Linked DNA regions of Homo sapiens: regions 1, 2, 4, 5, 6 and 7 are each linked to region 3. The links are contacts of gene promoters, found by promoter capture Hi-C in blood cells and fetal thymus (Javierre and others, 2016). All regions are on one chromosome and are shown on one strand. Each heading gives the region's core, a stretch centred on a gene start or on the middle of the fragment in contact. The rest is flanking DNA. Distances are from core to core; before and after follow the strand shown. Region 1 overlaps PHIP (PHIP subunit of CUL4-Ring ligase complex). Region 2 overlaps PHIP (PHIP subunit of CUL4-Ring ligase complex). Region 3 holds the start of LCA5 (lebercilin LCA5). Region 4 overlaps IRAK1BP1 (interleukin 1 receptor associated kinase 1 binding protein 1). Region 5 overlaps IRAK1BP1 (interleukin 1 receptor associated kinase 1 binding protein 1). Region 6 overlaps PHIP (PHIP subunit of CUL4-Ring ligase complex). Region 7 overlaps LOC107986613 (a long non-coding RNA gene).

Region 1 (2,700 bases), core at 136-2,635, 570 kb before region 3:
AATCCATATTCAATTTTTAATCATGACTGTGTAAATACTGCTTGCTCCTAAGCAAAACAGCATATAATTCCTTCCTTATATAATTTTGTTTTCCCTAAAATTAATAATTGCTTCATTTTTTTAATGCTTGGTTTTCAGTGAATTTACAATTAAATCTTCCCACAATCTCTAACAGCTCAAGCTGTAAAAAACATTCTTCAATGTAATTTTCCACAAAGACAAACTTGTTAGATAAGTTATGTGTTCCAATTTTTTCCCCCTGAAGACTTTCCTCTTGAAGGAGATTTGGACCTGCTAGGTAGCTGCTATCCTGAGGCTTCTACTGAATATTATTTGGGATTCCTTTTAACTTTTCCTGTTCTGGACTTCCTGTTTCCTGAGGGGATTCCATTCTTTTCCCTTTCTTGGTTACTCCCTTATTTGATGAAACACATCTTTCAAAACTTCTAGGGAAATGGAACATGAGATGTAAATTTTCTTTCTAACTTCCATGTCCATAATTTTGATAGCTTCCAAATTTTCCTAATTTCTCCTTACAGAGCACATACAAGTTTTTAACAAAGGACAAACCACCATGTCAATGCGTTCTAGTGGCACTGAAGGACAGACTGGTATATCAATTGATGTGCTTTTTCAAACCATACATACCGTGTACACATCATACCATGACACACACTGGTCCTATATGAAATTTTTAAGAGAACTACTCTCATAAGTGGCACATCATCTATATGTAAATTAATGCACCTTAAGTGCCTGAAAACTTTTACAGATTTTAGTTTCTTTGAGACTTGTTTATGATACTAATTTTAAAGATTATAATAGGATTAACCAATAAAAGAAAAATGTCAGTTTAGCTTTAGTCCCAGTACAAACTTATACATCTTGTTAAGCTTCTTTTGGCTTCAAATTTAAATTGTTATTAATATTTTTATACAAAAATTTAACTTAACATGTAAAACATGAAAATAAAGTCAAATGTAACAGAAAAAATGTTTTAAATTTCAACATCGACTGTTTTCATTCCTAAACAAAACTTAACAATACCTCTGACATAGTATCTTACTTTGCTATTAACATTCCTACAAATAGCAAAAAGATTTCTCTGATAATCTTTTTCTCAATTATGAAAAATAGTAAATCACTTACTAAGAAAAAAAAACCACATCAAACATCGATAGCTTCTAAATAAATTACCCACCTATATTCCATCGCCTGTATTTTGCATCATCAAATTGTTGTCTCAAGACTAGGAAATCTATAACGTCAGGCATATCATGGTATCTAATTACAAACAGAAACAAATTGATTAGGTCACATACCTAAAAATACCTAAAAGATGTTCAAATGTATCTGAATCTTGAAAAACAATCTACAATACTAAGAAAACCATTGCCTCTTTCAACAGTCCTTACTTCATGGTAAATGATCCGCCAGTCAGTTTACCAGTATCAGGATCTAGAAAAGCAAGTTTAAGGCAGCAAAGGGTAGGTAATCCCACTTCATACTTTATGCCAACTATTTTCATAAGTTCTTGTTCCTGAGAGAGACAGAGAATATAAGGAACCATCTTTACAAAATAAACCACAAAATAGACTGCTAAACATTGTTGAGAAAAAACTTCTTGGTTTAAATCTTGATCTGGATGGTGATGACTGTGTACATGTAAAAATTCACTGAGCTCTGTATTAAGATTTGTGCACTTTATAGTATGCAAGTTACAATGAAATTTTTAAAACGTAAAAAAGGAAAAAAAAATAAGGAGAACTTTACTAAAGTATAGTTACTAAAGTAAGTTTTCTATCACCATTCCAAAGACCTATTGGTAACTGAACTACTGATGACAAATCTAGAAATACGCATCAAATTTACGAATACAAAGCTTACTTTAGACTTATTACCTAATTTTCACTATAACTAAATTTTGTACCCAACCCATAAACTGCATTGGAGTATATAAATTCAGTCAAATCTTGTGTTTCTCTGGATGAAAATTAAACACCTCCTACTCTCTAGGACTGCTTCAATTAAACAAGGTATCTTCATGATGCAGTTTCTTATTGTGTTAATAGTAACCTTTGATACAATTTTCTCCAAATTCCATAATTGTATTTTTGGGGCTATTAAATAATAAATCAATGTCATACCCGTAGCTCCATTTTATGCCATGGTTGTTTTTTGGGATTGATACTATATATTTTATTTTTCCGGGCCATTTCGACATAGGCTTCATGTCCTTGTCGGAAATAATAAACCTAAAAAATAAAGTCATAATCTTACAACCTGGATGTGTTTCCTTTAATCCAATATACAGGGTATCAGCTGAAATTGCAAAGAGAAAATCTAATGCCTTTTCAGCTAATAGAAATTCTAATATTTTCTCCCTCCTCCTTTCTCTCAAGTTGTCTTAACATCACTAAATCATAACCAAAGTGTTCTAAATAACATTACTTTGAATACACACTTATAAGTTAAGATGAAAAGTTATTTTCTGGTTTCACCATTTTATTCTTAAAATCAAAATAAGTTAATCTATGTTGCATAATAACGTTGACTAATAAGTTTATTGTCCACTTTTGTTGTTAACTTTTTTAGCAAGTAGTTTGTACATATGCAGAAAACATTGAAATGAAAAATGTACTTTCACATATATTTTAATCCTTACACAAATCCTGGTAAGACAGCAGGGCATACATTTAT
Region 2 (2,700 bases), core at 40-2,539, 520 kb before region 3:
ATGGCTTGATACAGAAAAAAATTAGAATACTTATTACAATGATGACTATCAGTGCAATATTAAAATATTAATGTTTTATAATCTTATATTTAAAAATTATTAAAATGTAATTACTATGTATCAAACAGGCATTTGAAAGTTCACCTTTTCACTTGAAAGGCTTTTTAACATAACAGGATTTTTGGCTATTTCTAAAATTTCAAAAAAAGAATTTACATTTCCATAATTACACAAAAAATGCAGTAAAATGCTGATGAATACAAAATACTAAATTATATGTTACATGATTTCCATTATCTTTTGCAAAGGTATAAATTTCCAATGGAAAATTCAATTATTATTCAAAAAGCAGGAGAAATATTAAAGTATTCTTAAAATATACTTGATAAAAACCAGTATTTAAGAAATTTGTACTAAAACTGTTATTCTAAAGGTATAGTCTACATTCCTTATTTTCTAGCTGTAGGTGGAATGGTGAGTTTACTTATCTGTTTTATAAACTTCAGTTTTAACAGTCACATGAAATATTATTTAATCTTAAAAATACTTCACATAACTTTCACCATTTCTAGTCAAAAAAGGAGTATTCCACCAGAATTCTTCATCCTCTAATAGACCAAAGCACTATATATGACTAGACCCTTCACATGGTGCTCAAAAAATATTTACTAAACTGAACTTGTGATTACTACTACAACTTAACATTAGGGATTAAATTTGTATGCAATCAAGTATCGTGGTATTTTAGTAACTGAAAAACTTATTGATTAGCTACAGAGAGCCAAATAGCTATAATTATAGCCAAAACTCAACATTCATGATAGCAAGCAGTGAGAACGCAGGCCCTCCCTCGAATTGTTTCTCTTTATTTTCTTAATAGCAATGCTGGATGCTTTATCTTCCATTTGCCCATAAATAAAACAAGCAATGAAAAGAACAAAAGAGTGAAGAGCAAAAAGAATTAGGGCAATTAGATAACTCATAAAAGACAGACAGGAAAAAAAATCAAGTTAAAGAGTAAGATGTCAAAAGATCCACTCAGATTTATTACCATTATGAAAACATTTCTTCATAGACATATCACTAACTGAGTATTGTTAAAAGTTAGCTATGCAGTAACATTGACAAAAGCTCAAAAAGCCAACCATGACAAGATTTGAGTACAACCAGAGTCATGGGTTTATGCTCCAAGTGCCCGCATAATAGCTGTGTGAACTCAGTAAATTGGGGCAAAGCACTTTATCTCTGTAATGTACAGTTTCTCCATTCCTAAGACCAAGAATAATAAAATCTATCTTGATCATCTTACAAGGTTTTCATGAGACCCAAAGGAGGTAAAATATGTGGGAGCATTTTGGAAACCATTAAACATCATACAAAAAATTAAAGGTAGTATCTTTATTTTAATGAGATGAAGGGTGGCTCACTTTCTGTTTTTTAGCTTTTTTGGTTTATGTTTTGCTCACTGTCTGCAATTCTATGAATACTATCCAATTCAACTTATTACATGTATTTGTTTCTTCTGCTCTTTAGAGTTTTCCTATCTCTTATCCATAAAAAGAACCAGAAAAATATCCTCATCTAACACTCTTATTTAACAATAAACAATTTTTAAGGCAGTAATGTAACCAATCCCTCAGCTAATTTTTAAAAATATACAATATATTATGGCTGACTTCTACTCCTGGTTACATTACTAATTTTTAATGGTCTAAGAGCAAATCACTTAACTCTCAAGGTGCTGCAGTTTTTGTTATCTACTGAAAAGGTAGAATATTAGTGTGACCAACTTACCTGATAAGGGAAAATTCACCTTTATATAACTGAAAAGTTAAAGCGGTATTCAATTATGGGAGAAAAGTTTCCCTCCAAACACTCTACCAATATAATAATGTCCTTTGGAAATACAAAACTACTAAATGAAGCCACTAGTATATATATAGCTCACATATTATTTTTTTTAAGCTATAAAGACAGATTGAGAAATGACTAATTTCCTTATTCAACAGATATTCCAAAAAGGAGCAAATCAGAAACACAAGGATAGAAAAGCAGAAAATATTTTTTACTAGCATATTTACAGGTGGCTTTTTAAAAAAATCTCAATACAATCACAAAGGAAATCCATCCATCACTAACAAGTGCACACCAAATAATTAACACTGTTTTCTAGAAATAGAGGGTTTTACAAACCTTATTTCTTACCTAATGTATTCTAAGGCACAGCCTTAAAGATAGCTAAAGCTATTTCCCTCACTAAAAAATCTGCTATTATATCTGCTTACTCACGACATAGAAATAACTTTACTCTGATTATCAATCAAGCATAGCATCACATTCGTGTAATTTTTTCACAAACCATGTTTCACAACTGTTTTGTGAAATAATTTATTTGGCAAAATAATTCTGACCACATGTACTAATTGTATTGTTTTATGGTTCATTACTAAAGATTTCTATAATTGGTTTTTTAAAAAAATTTAAACATGCTGAAATAGTGGAAACTGTTTTTTCTTTTGTTCTTTGTTGAAAGGTATCTCTAATATACAGAAAGTAGACATTTAAAAAATATGACTACACAAACTGCAGTAGTTGAGGAGACCTTAATACTTCATACAGTAAATAGAAACACTGCTCGGTAAGTTGTATGTGATATATTAAAACATTGTAATTCAAATACTTGGCCAATTATGTTAACAT
Region 3 (2,700 bases), core at 75-2,574:
CTATTATTTCCTATAACTTATTTGGATAAACATACTAGCTAACATGGGAAATCACAAAGTGAAATATTTAAAATGGTAATATAGAATTTAAATGTGGAACAACTGGAAAAAAACATAGATTAAAATAACCATGCAAAAGAAAGAGGGAATGAGTAAAGAACTGGAAACATCGGTTTTACCATTCTAAAACACATATAGCCACTCCCTCTGCCAAAAACTAAATGATGACTTCTGATTGCAAAGATATCTCTAATGCAAGTTCTTAACGTGAAGATAAAGGAGGGGAATAAATATGTATGTGCCCAAGTATACTTTCCAAAGAACAAAGTGAACAAAAAAGGGGTTTATATCAGATGAACTGGACCAGGGCTCTTCACTGTTAAACACTATCCCACGGTCTATCTAACGTAAACATCACGTATCTGAGTACCGACTCCAACTCGAGTATGCCAAAAAGGCACTTTCTTTTTTCTTTTATTTCTAACCATCTTTACTCCTCTCATCCCATCCCTGAAGGATGTATAGAAGTATCACAGCCTGGACAAGTACGGCTTTCCACTCTAACCACAGTTTTAATAATAACACATCTATTATTATCCGAGAGCTACCAAAGCCTCCTTTTCCGTCTTGGCCCTTGGCCCTGCCCCTCCTCTCTAGTCTTGAGTCTCCACGGGCCTCCGGGGTTTTTGTTTTGTTTGTTTTAATAACAACCACTTCTCTAGATCCGCTTGCTCCCTTTCTTCTCTTCTCGGTCCCAGGAAGTAAATACCCTTTCCCAGCTCCTCTCCTCCTAACTTCCCAGTCCCCCCAGTGCCGGTCAACCTCCCTTCCTCGGGACCCTCTCAGAAGCCGAGCTCTTTACTCATTTTCCTAGGTCTTCCTTCTCCTCGCGGTCCCTACATCCTCCCCCATCCCTAATCCCTTCATCTTCCCTGCTTTAAGAACCACCCGCAGGCCCCCATCCACGAACGCCCCTTCACTAGCTACCAGACGCTTCAACCCAGCCTCACCTCGCACCTCCACCTCCCCCGCCGTCTCCACGCCCACTTCAAAGCCCACCTCCAACCCGCAGGCTCTTCAGCAGAGCCGATGCGGCGTCCCGCCTCCTTGCCTTCCCTCTTAGGACCAAACTCCCAGCTGGGGCCTCGGCGTCTGACCGCCAAAGAGCGGGTGCCTGGTTCCTGCGGAGGCTGCCGGGCGGGTGCCGAGGTTGCCGAGATGCGGGAGGTTTGAACACAAGGATGGGACAGAGGCGAGGATCGGGGCTCCTGGGTGGCAGCGGCGGTAACCTGGGCTCCAGGGTAACGGAGGCGGAGGCCTAGACTGCACTACGAAGAGACCGCAGCCAATCATGATGACTCTACCCGAGCTCCCATTGGCTTCTGTCTCCAGACGGCCCTTTTTATTGGCTTCAGTGGAACTGGAAGGCGGGACGGCGAGTGCGGGAGAAGGTCTCCATTGGCCGACCGCTCTAGCTGTAGCGGAGACCCCCAAGTAGGGAAATTGGGGCAAAACGCGGAGCGCTCCAGGCTCCTACGGGCTGTGCGGTGCCAGGGCTCGACTGCTGAGCGTCGTGGGCTCCGAGAGGGACGCGGGCGGAGGGCAAAGTGGGTTCATGATATGAATTGTAAAATTGGCGACTGCGTAATGTAAAACACTTAACAATTGCTTAGATTTCCTTTGGGAAATAACTTGCTTTTAAATTGTAAACAAATTACAAACAAACTGCTAGTGCTTCTGGATCTTCTTACCGAAATGGCTGATTCAGGAGGATGCGGGGTGAGTGCACTATTGTTCCTGCCTCGAGATCCTGGCTGTGAATCACCAACGAGCCGTGAGTTTGGCTTGAAAGTGATTTTTAGGTTTTGGAACGGGTTTGGGGTGGAATGGCATCTGAAATATTTGCACACAAGTTTTTTTTTTTTTTTTTTTTTTTTTTTTTTTTTTTTAAGGAACGTTTTGAGGAGCATGTCAGCCTATTGAGCGCTGATGTGTGACATATTTTCTCTTTTAGAAATGGCATTAATTGCGGGAGACAGGGAAGGTAAAAAAAAATCCTCTTTCGTGAGGGCTTTAAACTGCTCCGAGCCATCTGATTATCAAGGTGGTTTAACACTACTCTGGTGTTCTCACTATTGTTAATTTCTCACTGGCCTTTTTACCACCATTCTGTAGAGAATCTAATATTTGAAGGCAAATGCGTTTAATGAATCTTCTAACCATGAAGATTGGTAATTCCTGCTTCTCGCTCAACCTCGTTTTTCCACCTTTGCACTGTTTCAAAGCTTTCATTTTATCCTGTCAATACATTTTACTTCAAGTTACAGACTAACCCACCCAAACAATATTGTGATTAAATGTAATTTTCTGTATGCGAAATACATCTGTACAAGATGGCAGTCATCTGTTAGTGAAAATAAGATGAGTAATCCCTAAATTGCACGGAATTACTTTTCATCAATTCTTTAATCTGTCTCTGCTGACACTGTTAAAATAGCTCACTCGTTATTATGGACTCTGTTAGAATTAACATGTAAATGTATGGGTGGATTACTTATAAAGGAAGTTGCTAGGAAGAATCAGAAAACATACCGTATTTACGTGGACAAATGTCTGTCACAGGAGCGTCAGATCAGGATTGCTGAAGGAGAGCTGAGAATGAAACCACCATTTATTCAGCACTCAGAATGCTCCAGGCAG
Region 4 (2,700 bases), core at 38-2,537, 660 kb before region 3:
AGTAAAACACAAAACTTCTAGAAAAAAAGAAAAGGAGAAAATCTATGTGACCTTGGGATTGAAGATGAGTTTTTAGATACAGAGGTTGAGTATCCCTTATCTGAAATGTTGGGACCAGAAATGTTTCAGATTTCAGATTTTTATTTTGGAATATTTGCATTATATACTTAATGATTGAATATCCCAAATCCAAAAATCTAAAATTCAAAATTCTCCAAAGAGCATTTTCTTTGAGCATCATGTTTGTGCTTAAAAACAAGTTTTGAATTTTTGAGCTTTTCGAATTTTGGATTTTCACATTTAGGATGCTCAACCTGTGTTACCAAAAAGCACAGTCCATGAAACAAACAAAAAGATAAATTGTATTTTATGACAATTAAAAACTCACTTTGTGAAAAACATTGTTAAGAAAATGAAAAGTCAATCTATAGACTGGGAGAAAATATTTGTAAATTACATAGCTGATAAAGGACTTGTATCTGTTAAGAAAATGAAAAGTCAGTCTATAGACTGGGAGAAAATATTTGTAAATTACATAGCTGATGAAGGACTTGTATCAAGAACATATATAGACCTCAATTCAGCAGTAACAAACAGCTCAATAAAAATGCACAAAAGATCTTAACAGACACTTCGCCAAGGAACTTATACAGATGGCAAATAGGCACATGAAAAGATACTCAACATTACTTGTCAATAGGGAAATGGAAAATAAAACCACAATGAAATACTGCTATGTACCTATTAGAATGGCTTAAATACAGTAACACTGATACCAAATGCTGGGAAGGATACAGAGCAACAGGAATTCTCGTTCATTGCTGGTGAGATTGCAAAATTATATGGCCACTTTGGAAGGTAGTCTTATAGTTTCTTATAAGTTAAATATAGACTTACCATAGAAGTCAGCATTCTAGGATAATTTGCCGAAGTGAATTGAAAACGTAAGTACATATAAGAATCTGTACACAAATGTTTATAGCAGCTTTATTCATAACTTCTAAAACTGGAAGCAGCCAAGATGTCTTTCAGCAGTGGCATGGATTAAAAAAATTGTGGTACATCCATGCAAAAGAATATTATTCAGCAATAAAAAGGAATGAGAATTGATTCACAAAACAATGTGAGTGAATTTAGCTGCATATTAGTCAGTGAAAGAAGCCAGACCCAAAAGCTTTGAATTTTATGATTCTATTCATATGATCTTCTGGAGAAAAGCAAAACTATGGGGAACGAAAACAGATTAGTGGTTAACAATCTGTTGGAGGGCAAAGTGGTTGACTAAAAGAGATGCACGGAGAAATTTTTAAGGTGAAAGAACTATTCTTTATGGTACTGGAGTGGTACATACATGACTTTATGCATTTGTCAAACCTCATAGAGCTGTAAATCACAAATAGTGAAGCTTGATGTATGTAAACTGGAGGAAAAAGGCATCAAAGAGCCTATCACAGGATCAATCCCAGGATAAAATTTATTCTCTTGACAAATGAACCCAGTTCTTACAAATGAGTGACATAACTGTGCTTAAGGTGATAGGGGCAGGGACTGTCCTAAATTACTGGAAAATGGTGTTTTGACTGGAAATTATAAGGATGAAGAATAAAGATACAAAAACTCCATGCTCTAGTTGGTAAATAAGTTTTCCAAAGGGGTATTTGTTAATAAGTCTGAAAGTGCTTTACATGTATATACTGGGGTTAAACAAATAAATAAGTGGATAGTGGATGGTGGGAGCCAGGTTTCTCACTATCAGAGAGGGAAGTTACAGATAAAAATGGAAGGTTAAAATGAATTCTGTGATTCAGGATTAGAGTTGAAAACATCAGTGTGAACTCATGTTTACCTTTGTATATTGTACAGGTGGAAAAATACAGAAAATTTTACATGTAAGTTAGTATCTGTGTGCGTATATATATGTCTATGCATATATATATGTAACCTAGCTCTGTCCACTGAGAGAGCCTAGAAGGAATGACACCCCAATAGCAGTGAGCAGTCTCAGCATTCAGATCTTGGTTCTACATAAATCTCAAAGAAAAGGTACTATGCTTCTTGGAGAAAGGGCTTATTCTAGGACTGGGGCAAGGAAACTGCATAAGCCTATAATATCTTGCAACAGAAAGTAAGAAAGTGCTCAAAAAGTAAAGGAAAGGGGTATGTCAAACAGATAAAGGAGCCAACCTGAAAGAAGTCCCAATGGCCAAAGCTAGAACAATTGAGCAACAAAAGAAATAAAGTAGTATTTATTGAGTGAGTGTGGGCTGCACTTAGTGACATGCTTCCAATTAATAAAGTATGGAAAGGGGAAAATAGTAACTTTACAGTGGAGGAAACTGGCAAACACTACTTTACCCAAGTGACCAGTATTAGTATTTGGAGTAGTGTCATGTGGATACCATGTACTGCCTGATGTGTTGTGATTAAAAAGGCATTTCACCTCTATGGTATTCTTTCCTAAAATTTATAACTCTAGTCTAATCATGAGAAAACATCAATGTCAAAATGAGGGACATTCTGCAAAATACATGACCAAAACTTTCAAGGTCATGAAAAACAAAGGAAGACTGAGAAACTATCAAGAGACCAGAGGAGACTAAGGAGACTTGATGAATTAATGCAATACAGTATCATGGATTTGATCCTGTGGTAGTAAAAAGGACATTTAATAGAAAAACTGGTGAAATCCAAATAAAGTTT
Region 5 (2,700 bases), core at 89-2,588, 640 kb before region 3:
ATCTTTAACAGTGGAGAATGTATCAGTAGTTGCCAGGGTTTAGGAACTGGGGAAGGAACTGATAAAGGAGTTACCTGAGAGAATTTTTAGGGGTGTTGGAACAGGTCTAAATTTTTGTTATGGTGGTTACAAAGTTCTATACCTTTTTCAAAAGTGATATAATTCACTAGGCATGGTGGCACGTTCCGGTAGTCCCAGCTACTCGGGGGGCTGAGGCAGGAGGATCATCTGAACCCAGGGGTTGAGGCTGCAGTGAGCCCGTGATCACACCACTGCACTCCAGCCAGGAAAACAGAAAGAGACCCTGGCTCAAAAAAAAAAAAAAATTATGATTAAAGACAGATGTTCTGCATTGTATAAGGTGAGGTTATCTTATGTCTCTCTCTGCTACTCCAGCTTATTCTGTAGTATCTGTATTTTGTTTTGCATATTGACCTTGTGTTAAGGGTTCTTTAGAAGAAAAGGTTTAGGCTGCGTGTGGTGTCTCATGTCTACAACCGCTAAGGTGGGAGGATTGCTTGAGGCCAGGAGTTTGAGACCAGCTTGGGGAACATAGTGAGACTCCACCTCTACAAAAAAAATTTTTTTAATTAGCTGGGCATGGTGGTGCATGCCTGTAGCCCTTCCTACTTGGAAGGCTGAGGTAGGAGGATCGCTTGAACCCAGGAGTTTGAGGCTGCAGTGAGCTATGATAATGCCAGTGCACTCCAGCCTGGGCAACGTAGCAAGATCTTGTCTCTCTTAAAAAAAAAAAAAAAAAAAAAAGACAAGGTTTAGTTCCCTTCATTGAAGACTTAACAGACCGGTTTTAAAGTATTGCCGAATATAAGGACTGCTTCCACATATTTAAAGGCAGAAGACAGAGTGAAATACATTAGCTTCCACATATAGATCTGAACAGAACTATTGGAAGAAGAAACATTTCTCAATGATAGCAGTGAAGTATGGCATGATTACTACTAATCAGGAAGCTAAGGGCATTGATTAGACAAAGGAATCATGCTAGTTATCAGGATTAAAATTTAGCCAAGTAATAAGGTTTAAGGGAAACTCCTTCAATTTCATTTAAAAATCCCTGGTTTAAAATATAAGTTTTTTAATATTCAAGACAATATTAGATAAATTTGAAAATTCAAAAGCAAAAATCTTAAAGAACAAAATAATTTAGTTATAAGTATCAAATAGGCTTTTAAAAATCTGTTACATACTATAAAATGACCTCATAGTCTGGCTATACTTTTTTTACTTACATGTAGAGAAAATCTTGAAACAGTACATCAGACATGAAAATAATATCGTGTCATTTCATTTACAGGTCTGCATTACATTTACTGAATTTGGAAAAATGCAAAATATTTGTAACTTTCTTGTTGAAAAGCTAGATAGCTCTGTTGTCATCAGCCCACCCCAGTTCTATCATACTCCAGGTTCTGTTGAGAATCTTCGGTAAGTTTAAGCACATCTTTAACTAAGATATTCTTTAAACAAAACTATCCAGTGCTACATTTCATTGAGTGTCATATTAATAATCTCTCCATTTAATTCCTAAGACGGCAAGCCTGTCTTGTTGCTGTTGAGAATGCGTGGCGCAAAGCTCAAGAAGTCTGTAACCTTGTTGGCCAAACCTTAGGAAAACCTTTACTAATCAAAGAAGAAGAAACAAAAGAATGGGAAGGCCAAATAGATGATCACCAGTCATCCAGACTCTCAAGTTCATTAACTGTACAACAAAAAATCAAAAGTGCAACAATACATGCTGCTTCAAAAGTATTTATAACTTTTGAGGTAAAGGGAAAAGAGAAGAGAAAAAAGCACCTTTGAAATTCCAAACAAATTATATTGTACTTGTATCTTTTTACCTATTTTTATACTTTTTATAATGTTTACGTTTGTCCTGAATATATATATATATATATATATATATATATATATGGTATAGGAGATAAGCTATTTCTTTCCAAAATCTATAAATCTTTGAATATAGTCCCACAGAATACTTATGTTCACTTTCTATTTTTAAAAGACTACTCTGAAAAACACTCTTGGATAATAAATGTATTATGTGCATACTTATATACTGACAGTTCATACAAGCACATGTGTAATATTTCTATTATAAGGACAGATATTGACCCTTGCATTTCATAATTTTTAAAGATATTTAAGCTAAAATTTTCTCAGCCACATTTTTATATAAAACCAAATTTTATGTAAAAACTAGGCTTCAATAAGTTAGCTAAATTTTTTAAATTGTAAGACAAAATTTTTATGGAAAAGAATTCCTATATCCCATCAAACCTAATAATTTTCCACAACTAAAAATGAGTATAAATACATAATTTTAAGTGCATCCTGTCAGGTCTGATATTTAATTTTACTTTAGTTAGAAGCTAAGTAGTTACCCTGTTACTTCTTCATGGATGCTAACAGAAGACTTGAGATTCCCAGACAGAAACAAAGGACTATTACTCATGGCACAACAAGGAGCATGAGCATCAGCACATTCTCATTGCTTCCCCTTGTCCCAGGTCCCATGGGGGCAAAATGATATGGCCATATGCAATATGGCTACATATACAGCAGGCTTTTGTTGTAGGTAAAGAATACTGAGCTTGGAGGGTTCACTGCTTTTTATCCATGAACAGAAGCAAACCTGCTCTTTGCCTCATCCCTTATAGATGCTCACTCAAAACTCAATAC
Region 6 (2,700 bases), core at 9-2,508, 550 kb before region 3:
ATTATGAAGAGCTAAAGAAAGTTCTTGATGAGGCTTCAGTGTAATTTATTAGAATTTCATGAGTATGTAAGAATTGGCACTTTGGGAAAGGGTATGCTACAAAGCAGAAATGGAATTAAAAATTTTAAATAGTAAACAATAGATAATCCAGAGATAACCAAGATTTACTATGTTAATTTTTATCATTAACCTGTTTATAATACCATGTTAAATTACAAAATGGAGCCTTAAAATGGTCACTATACTTAAGAAGCAAATATTAAACATCAAAATAATTAATATGTACCTTTGAGACAGTGGGTATTTTATTCTCTTTTGGAACAGTTAAGTGTTTTCTTTTCTCTTCTGACCTGTAAGTCTTTATTTCTTCTTCTCCCTTTGCAGTTCTCCATTCTTCTTGCCTACTGAAAGACAAAAGCCATATGCATTAATCTAGAATTTTACACATAACTTTCCTCCAAAAGGAATGTTAGGTATCAGGAAAGGAACGCTACTCCTGATGTTTTATTTTAAGATGGAAGCATGTGATAAAGATTTCTAAGTTTAATTTCATAGGTTGTGGGCTCAGGACATCCGGCATTAAATGACTGAAATAATGGAAAGACAAACTCTGTCTACCCCAACTTGATACTACTGGTTCCTGCTATGGTCTCTGGCAAACCAAGTATTAGATTCTGGGAATGTGGTGATTCCTAGGGTAATTTTTCCAAGAGTGAGAAATTGGATTTTTTTTTTTTTTTTTAGGATAGGGCCTATGCTTTGATAATCTTCTGTTCCATATAGATAGCTGGAATCTCTTTAAAAATTCAATACAACAGACCCTGAGGTTACACGGAAAGCCCTGAAAGAACTACACTCTTTCCAGAGACAGGGAGGTCAGGTTTCACCGACTGAAAAAACTCAAACCATCAAGGTGAAACTGAACAACACAAATTGAGGAACACTAATTTTAAACTTTAATACAAAAAATGAACTCATGAGAAGATAATTTTATTTTTTATTTCAATATCTTACAACTTTAAAGTTTTTGAAATGCAAGGGTATTTGAAATTTAATTCTCCCTTAAGATTTTATAATAAGAAGGTAGTTAATACTAAAACACAGTGCAACTATATACTGTTGATATTTCTTTACTAGATGATATTAATGTTATCATGTTACTTAACGGCACAATCTCCATTGTGGCTGGCCATAATTCTGAATGGAAAATAAAATGAGCAAATTTAAATCTTGTGAAAAGAACAGGCTTGGATTTAATTTTTTTGTTCTTAATTTTTTTTTTTTAAATTAAACTTTTTACTGCAATAATTATAGATTAACATACAGTTGTAAGAAATAACAGCGATTATTTGTATCCTTTATCCAGTTCCCCCAAATAGTAACTTTTTTTTTTTTTTTTTGAGATGGAGTCTCGCTGTCGCCCAGGCTGGAGTGCAGTGGCATGATCTCGGCTCACTGCAGGCTCTGCCCCCCGGGGTTCACACCATTCTCCTGCCTCAGCCTCCCGAGTAGCTGGGACTACATGCGTCCGCCACCTCGCCCGGCTAATTTTTTGTATTTTTAGTAGAGACGGGGGTCCACTGTGCTAGCCAGGATGGTCTCGATCTCCTGACCTCGTGATCCCCCCCACCTCGGCCTCCCAAAGTGCTGGGATTACAGGTGTGAGCCACCGCGCCGGCCCAAAATGGTAACATTTTGCAAAACTTTGTATCCTTTATCTAATTCCCCCAAATGGTAACATTTTGTAAAACATGGTACAACATCAGAAGGAGGATGCTGACATTTATACAATCCACTGATCTTACTGAGACTTCCCCAGTTTTACTTCTATTAGTTTCTATTAGTTTGTGTGTGTGTGTACACAGGCATACATTGTTTTACTGTGCTTTGCAGATAGTGCATTTTTTTTTTTCACAAGCTGCAAGTTTGTGGAACCCTGCAATGAGCAAATGCCATTTTTCAACCACATATGCTAACTTCGTGTCTCTGTGTCACATTTTGGTAATTCTTAAAATATTTCTGGCTTTTTCACTACCATTATATCTATTATGGAGATCTGTTGTCAGTAATTTTTTATGCTTCTATTGTAGTTGTTTTGAAGCACCATGAACCTCACCTATATAGAACAATGAACTTAACTGACAAATGTTACGTGTGTTCTGACTGCTCCACTAACTAGCCATTGCCCCATCTTCTCCCTCTCCTCAGGCCTCACTATTCCCTGAGACAGAACAATATTAAAGTTAGGCCAATTAAAAACCCTAACTGATCCAGTGAAAACATCTCTCACTTTAAATCAAAGGTAGCAACGATTAAACTCTGTGATAAAGGCATGTCAAAATCTGAGACAGGCTGAAAGCTATGCCTCTTGTGCCCAACAACCACGTTTTCAATGAAAAGGAAAAGCTCTTGAAGGAAGTTAAATATGCTACTCCAGTGAACACAGGAATGATATGAAAGTGAAGCAGGCTTGTTGCCGATACAGAAATAGTTTTTGCGGTCTGGATAGAAGATTAAACCAGCTACAACATTCCCTTAAGCCAAAGCCTAATCCAGAGCAAGGCTCTAACTCTATTCTCTTCTATGAAGGTTGGAAGAGGGGAAAAAGCTGCAGAAGAAAAGTTGGAAGCTAGCAGAGGTTGGTTCATGAGGCCTAAGAACTACCTGTGTAACATAAAAGTGTAGGGTGAAGCAGCAAGT
Region 7 (2,700 bases), core at 129-2,628, 680 kb before region 3:
AGGATTCTATTATAAAACAGAAATTCCATTATGTTTTAATATCATTAAAGATTCTATCATAAAATAATTCAATGTTGATAATTTGCATAGACTACTTGTATTAAATCAGCCACATTGCCCAAAAATTCAGAATCATTTAATCCCTGATATTTCTGAGTGAACAAAAATTAATTATAATGGGGGAAGGACAGAACATGAAATGACTAATAGGAAATTAGAACATTTTCTTCTGGACAGATGACTAGTGAGCTGGCTATGAAGTGTATATAAAATTGTTAGGTGTATATGAAAATCATTAAACTAATCTGGCTATAAATGAGATGGAAATCAAGGCACATCAAAAGATCAGTAAGGTAAAAAGTGCTGGAACCACTCATAGGAAACCCTGAAGTTCACAGATTTGAAACTTAAATTTGATATGAAAGATCACTTTAGACTCAAAATTGCTGATACCAATGATAAAACTCTTTTAGTGGCCACTGAATTAGACAATTGGTTCAGGAAGGAAAGTCTGGAAGCAAAGAGACAGGAAAACTATGACTATGACAGAATAATGATTATGGTTGTGAAAAGGGGCTGATCCAAGGATACTACTAGTCATTTTCTATGTTTTTTCTCTATTTTTATATTCATTGCATCTCAGGAGCACTTCATCCACCTCTATATCTTATTAATCAGTATTCTTGAATGTACTGAATTTTATGAACATGTTTCCGAGAGAATATAGTTTCTTTTTCAGTTCTATTGTCATTCCCTGAATGTTATTTATCTAATGTAAGCCTCCTTCGGACAATCTTCTATGGTTCTTATAGTTTATTATATTCTCTAGCTTTGTATGAGAAGTATAATTTATGCTTTGTATGAGAAGCATAAAAGTCTGGGGAAAAAAGATGACAAGTCATAACTTTATCCTCATGGGCACACAACTTCAGTTAAATCTTTTTGTCTAACAGGTACTGTCTCTTAACTGGGTGAATGGCATTTTCAGATAAGCAGTTTTCCTCCATGCTTTGTTAGAAATCATGGAAAAGCTTTGTTCCATCAAAACTTCTGTACTAATTGCTCAGATAATTCTCAAAGCTAAGGCTGTCTCAGCTCCAAAAGTTGTGATGCCAGACTATACAAGACCATTGAAGTTGAGTGCGTTAAGTTTTTACTGCCACGTGTCAAGCACTGTGCTGCAAACCTTTAAATATCTGCACAACCATTCTGTCAATCCAGTTATCTGATCTGTCAACTGGAATCTCATCCTCTGAGACAGGCTCCTGTGGGAAATTCCATTGTTCTTAATCCTATGGACTTGCTTTCTCATAATTGACTGTGTCTTCCACTTTTGCTGAACTCTTGATCTCACATATCTTGCCCTTTGCAGATGCTCCTTATCTTTGTTATACACATAGCTTCTTTCCTTGATTTCTCCCAAATCACAATGCAACACAGTCATGTTGTTACATTGCCAAGATGCCAACAACTAAACATTGTAAATTAGACTTCTGTGGTCTTTAAAGTTATGGCCACTATTGCTATCAAGGCATTTGTCTCCTTCTCCACAGGATTCAGCCTCCTATCTATCTTGCATGGCCTTTTCTCTAATTCCTCCCCCTTCTCTTTCTGGCATTTCTCCTCCCACATCTCTATTCATTTCTTTGTACACAACTGTTTAGTTCTTTGTATTGCAATCACCTTCTAGAACTCACACTCAAGGCCTCACCTTCCACACTCAGATAAGCTTATCAAGGCATTTTTTCTAAATGAAGACAGTGCCCAGTTCCCTAAGTGGAACTCTAGTACCACTGGTTCATAATATTTTTGGCCCATTAAATATATATATAAATATATATGTATATACACACATAAACGATAAAGCAGGCCGGGTGCAGTGGCTTACACCTGTAATCCCAGCACTTTGTGAAGCCAAGGCAGGCAGATCACGAGGTCAAGAGATCAAGACCATCATGGCCAACATGGTGAAACTCTGTCTCTACTAAAAATACAAAAAAAAAATTAGCTGGGTATGGTGGTGCACACCTGTAGTCCCAGCTACTCAGGAGGCTGAGGCAGGAGAATCACTTGAACCTGGGAGGCGGAGGTTACAGTGAGCCAAGATCGTGCCACTGCACTCCAGCCTGGTGACAGAGCAAGACTCTGTCTCAAAAAAAAAATAAAAAATAAAAAAATAAAGCAACTGGGCCTCACAAGAGATGAATTACACAGCTCACCAATCTTAAAAATGCAGGCCATTTTACTCTAAATGCCTTTGCCTTTTAAAAACACAATGCTGGTTTAAAAACATGCTTTAATTAGTAAACTTTACTTTTTTTAAATTGGACCGTGTTTTTTATTTTTATTAATTTTTTAAAGACCAGGTCTCACTCTGTCGCCTAAGCTACAGTGCAGTGGCATGATCTTGGCTCACTGCAACCTCCATCTCCTGGGTTCAAGCAATTCTTCTGCTTCAGCCACTCAAGTAGCTGGGATTACAGACATGCACTGTTGGGAAAAAGCTGAGTGTTGGGAAAAGAAACTGAGGCAGGGCTTGCATGTCTGACATAATGGCCTCTGGAATGTGTCTAGACTTGCTGGCTCCTTGCTTCTAGCCCTCCTAGGCTCCTAGATCAATTGTATTCCCATTATCTGAGGTAGCAGAACATATTCCATATAAATGCTAAACCATCACAGCTGTAGATCATGTGCCTGCCC

What was found. The method cuts DNA at HindIII sites, captures the fragments that hold promoters and counts their contacts. A CHiCAGO score of 5 or more calls a contact.
Region 1: a contact is called between a fragment that was not itself captured here and the fragment with the promoter of LCA5 in region 3, in 6 of 17 cell types (megakaryocytes, erythroblasts, endothelial precursors and 3 more). The highest score is 14.9, in megakaryocytes.
Region 2: a fragment that was not itself captured here is called in contact with the fragment with the promoter of LCA5 in region 3 in 2 of 17 cell types (megakaryocytes and erythroblasts); the score reaches 6.3 in megakaryocytes.
Region 4: a contact is called between a fragment that was not itself captured here and the fragment with the promoter of LCA5 in region 3, in 4 of 17 cell types (megakaryocytes, total B cells, M2 macrophages and 1 more). The highest score is 6.1, in megakaryocytes.
Region 5: a fragment that was not itself captured here is called in contact with the fragment with the promoter of LCA5 in region 3 in 3 of 17 cell types (monocytes, M2 macrophages and M1 macrophages); the score reaches 6.5 in monocytes.
Region 6: a fragment that was not itself captured here is called in contact with the fragment with the promoter of LCA5 in region 3 in 1 of 17 cell types (erythroblasts); the score reaches 5.6 in erythroblasts.
Region 7: a contact is called between a fragment that was not itself captured here and the fragment with the promoter of LCA5 in region 3, in 4 of 17 cell types (fetal thymus, erythroblasts, naive B cells and 1 more). The highest score is 7.3, in fetal thymus.

Annotation. Positions count from the first base shown.
Region 1 is chr6:78,968,634-78,971,333 of GRCh38, forward strand. PHIP (PHIP subunit of CUL4-Ring ligase complex) reads right to left here. Exons shown (of 40, transcript NM_017934.7): 25 at 2,148-2,255; 26 at 1,416-1,540; 27 at 1,202-1,284. It also overlaps a transcript of IRAK1BP1 not described here. Among named protein-coding and RNA genes, the nearest start is that of IRAK1BP1, 100 kb to the left of the region's middle. RefSeq lists an enhancer at 2,581-2,700. The HindIII fragment of the contact is 989 bases long and covers 892-1,880 here.
Region 2 is chr6:79,011,882-79,014,581 of GRCh38, forward strand. All of the region lies in intron 15 of PHIP (PHIP subunit of CUL4-Ring ligase complex), which reads right to left. All of the region lies in intron 1 of LOC124901346 (a long non-coding RNA gene), which reads left to right. Among named protein-coding and RNA genes, the nearest start is that of PHIP, 65 kb to the right of the region's middle. The HindIII fragment of the contact is 7,812 bases long and covers 1-2,700 here.
Region 3 is chr6:79,536,106-79,538,805 of GRCh38, forward strand. It overlaps LCA5 (lebercilin LCA5), which reads right to left and starts at 1,325. Exons shown (of 8, transcript NM_001122769.3): 1 at 1,060-1,325. It also overlaps a transcript of SH3BGRL2 not described here. RefSeq lists enhancers at 1,221-1,794, 1,789-1,838, 2,369-2,700. The HindIII fragment of the contact is 3,782 bases long and covers 1-2,283 here.
Region 4 is chr6:78,880,100-78,882,799 of GRCh38, forward strand. The region is part of intron 1 of IRAK1BP1 (interleukin 1 receptor associated kinase 1 binding protein 1); the gene reads left to right. Among named protein-coding and RNA genes, the nearest start is that of IRAK1BP1, 14 kb to the left of the region's middle. The HindIII fragment of the contact is 231 bases long and covers 1,173-1,403 here.
Region 5 is chr6:78,896,514-78,899,213 of GRCh38, forward strand. It overlaps IRAK1BP1 (interleukin 1 receptor associated kinase 1 binding protein 1), which reads left to right. Exons shown (of 4, transcript NM_001010844.4): 3 at 1,316-1,446; 4 at 1,551-2,700. The coding sequence ends at 1,821. Among named protein-coding and RNA genes, the nearest start is that of IRAK1BP1, 30 kb to the left of the region's middle. The HindIII fragment of the contact is 6,600 bases long and covers 1-2,700 here.
Region 6 is chr6:78,990,582-78,993,281 of GRCh38, forward strand. PHIP (PHIP subunit of CUL4-Ring ligase complex) reads right to left here. Exons shown (of 40, transcript NM_017934.7): 20 at 287-404. Among named protein-coding and RNA genes, the nearest start is that of PHIP, 86 kb to the right of the region's middle. The HindIII fragment of the contact is 3,230 bases long and covers 1-2,700 here.
Region 7 is chr6:78,851,624-78,854,323 of GRCh38, forward strand. The region is part of intron 1 of LOC107986613 (a long non-coding RNA gene); the gene reads right to left. Among named protein-coding and RNA genes, the nearest start is that of IRAK1BP1, 15 kb to the right of the region's middle. The HindIII fragment of the contact is 698 bases long and covers 1,030-1,727 here.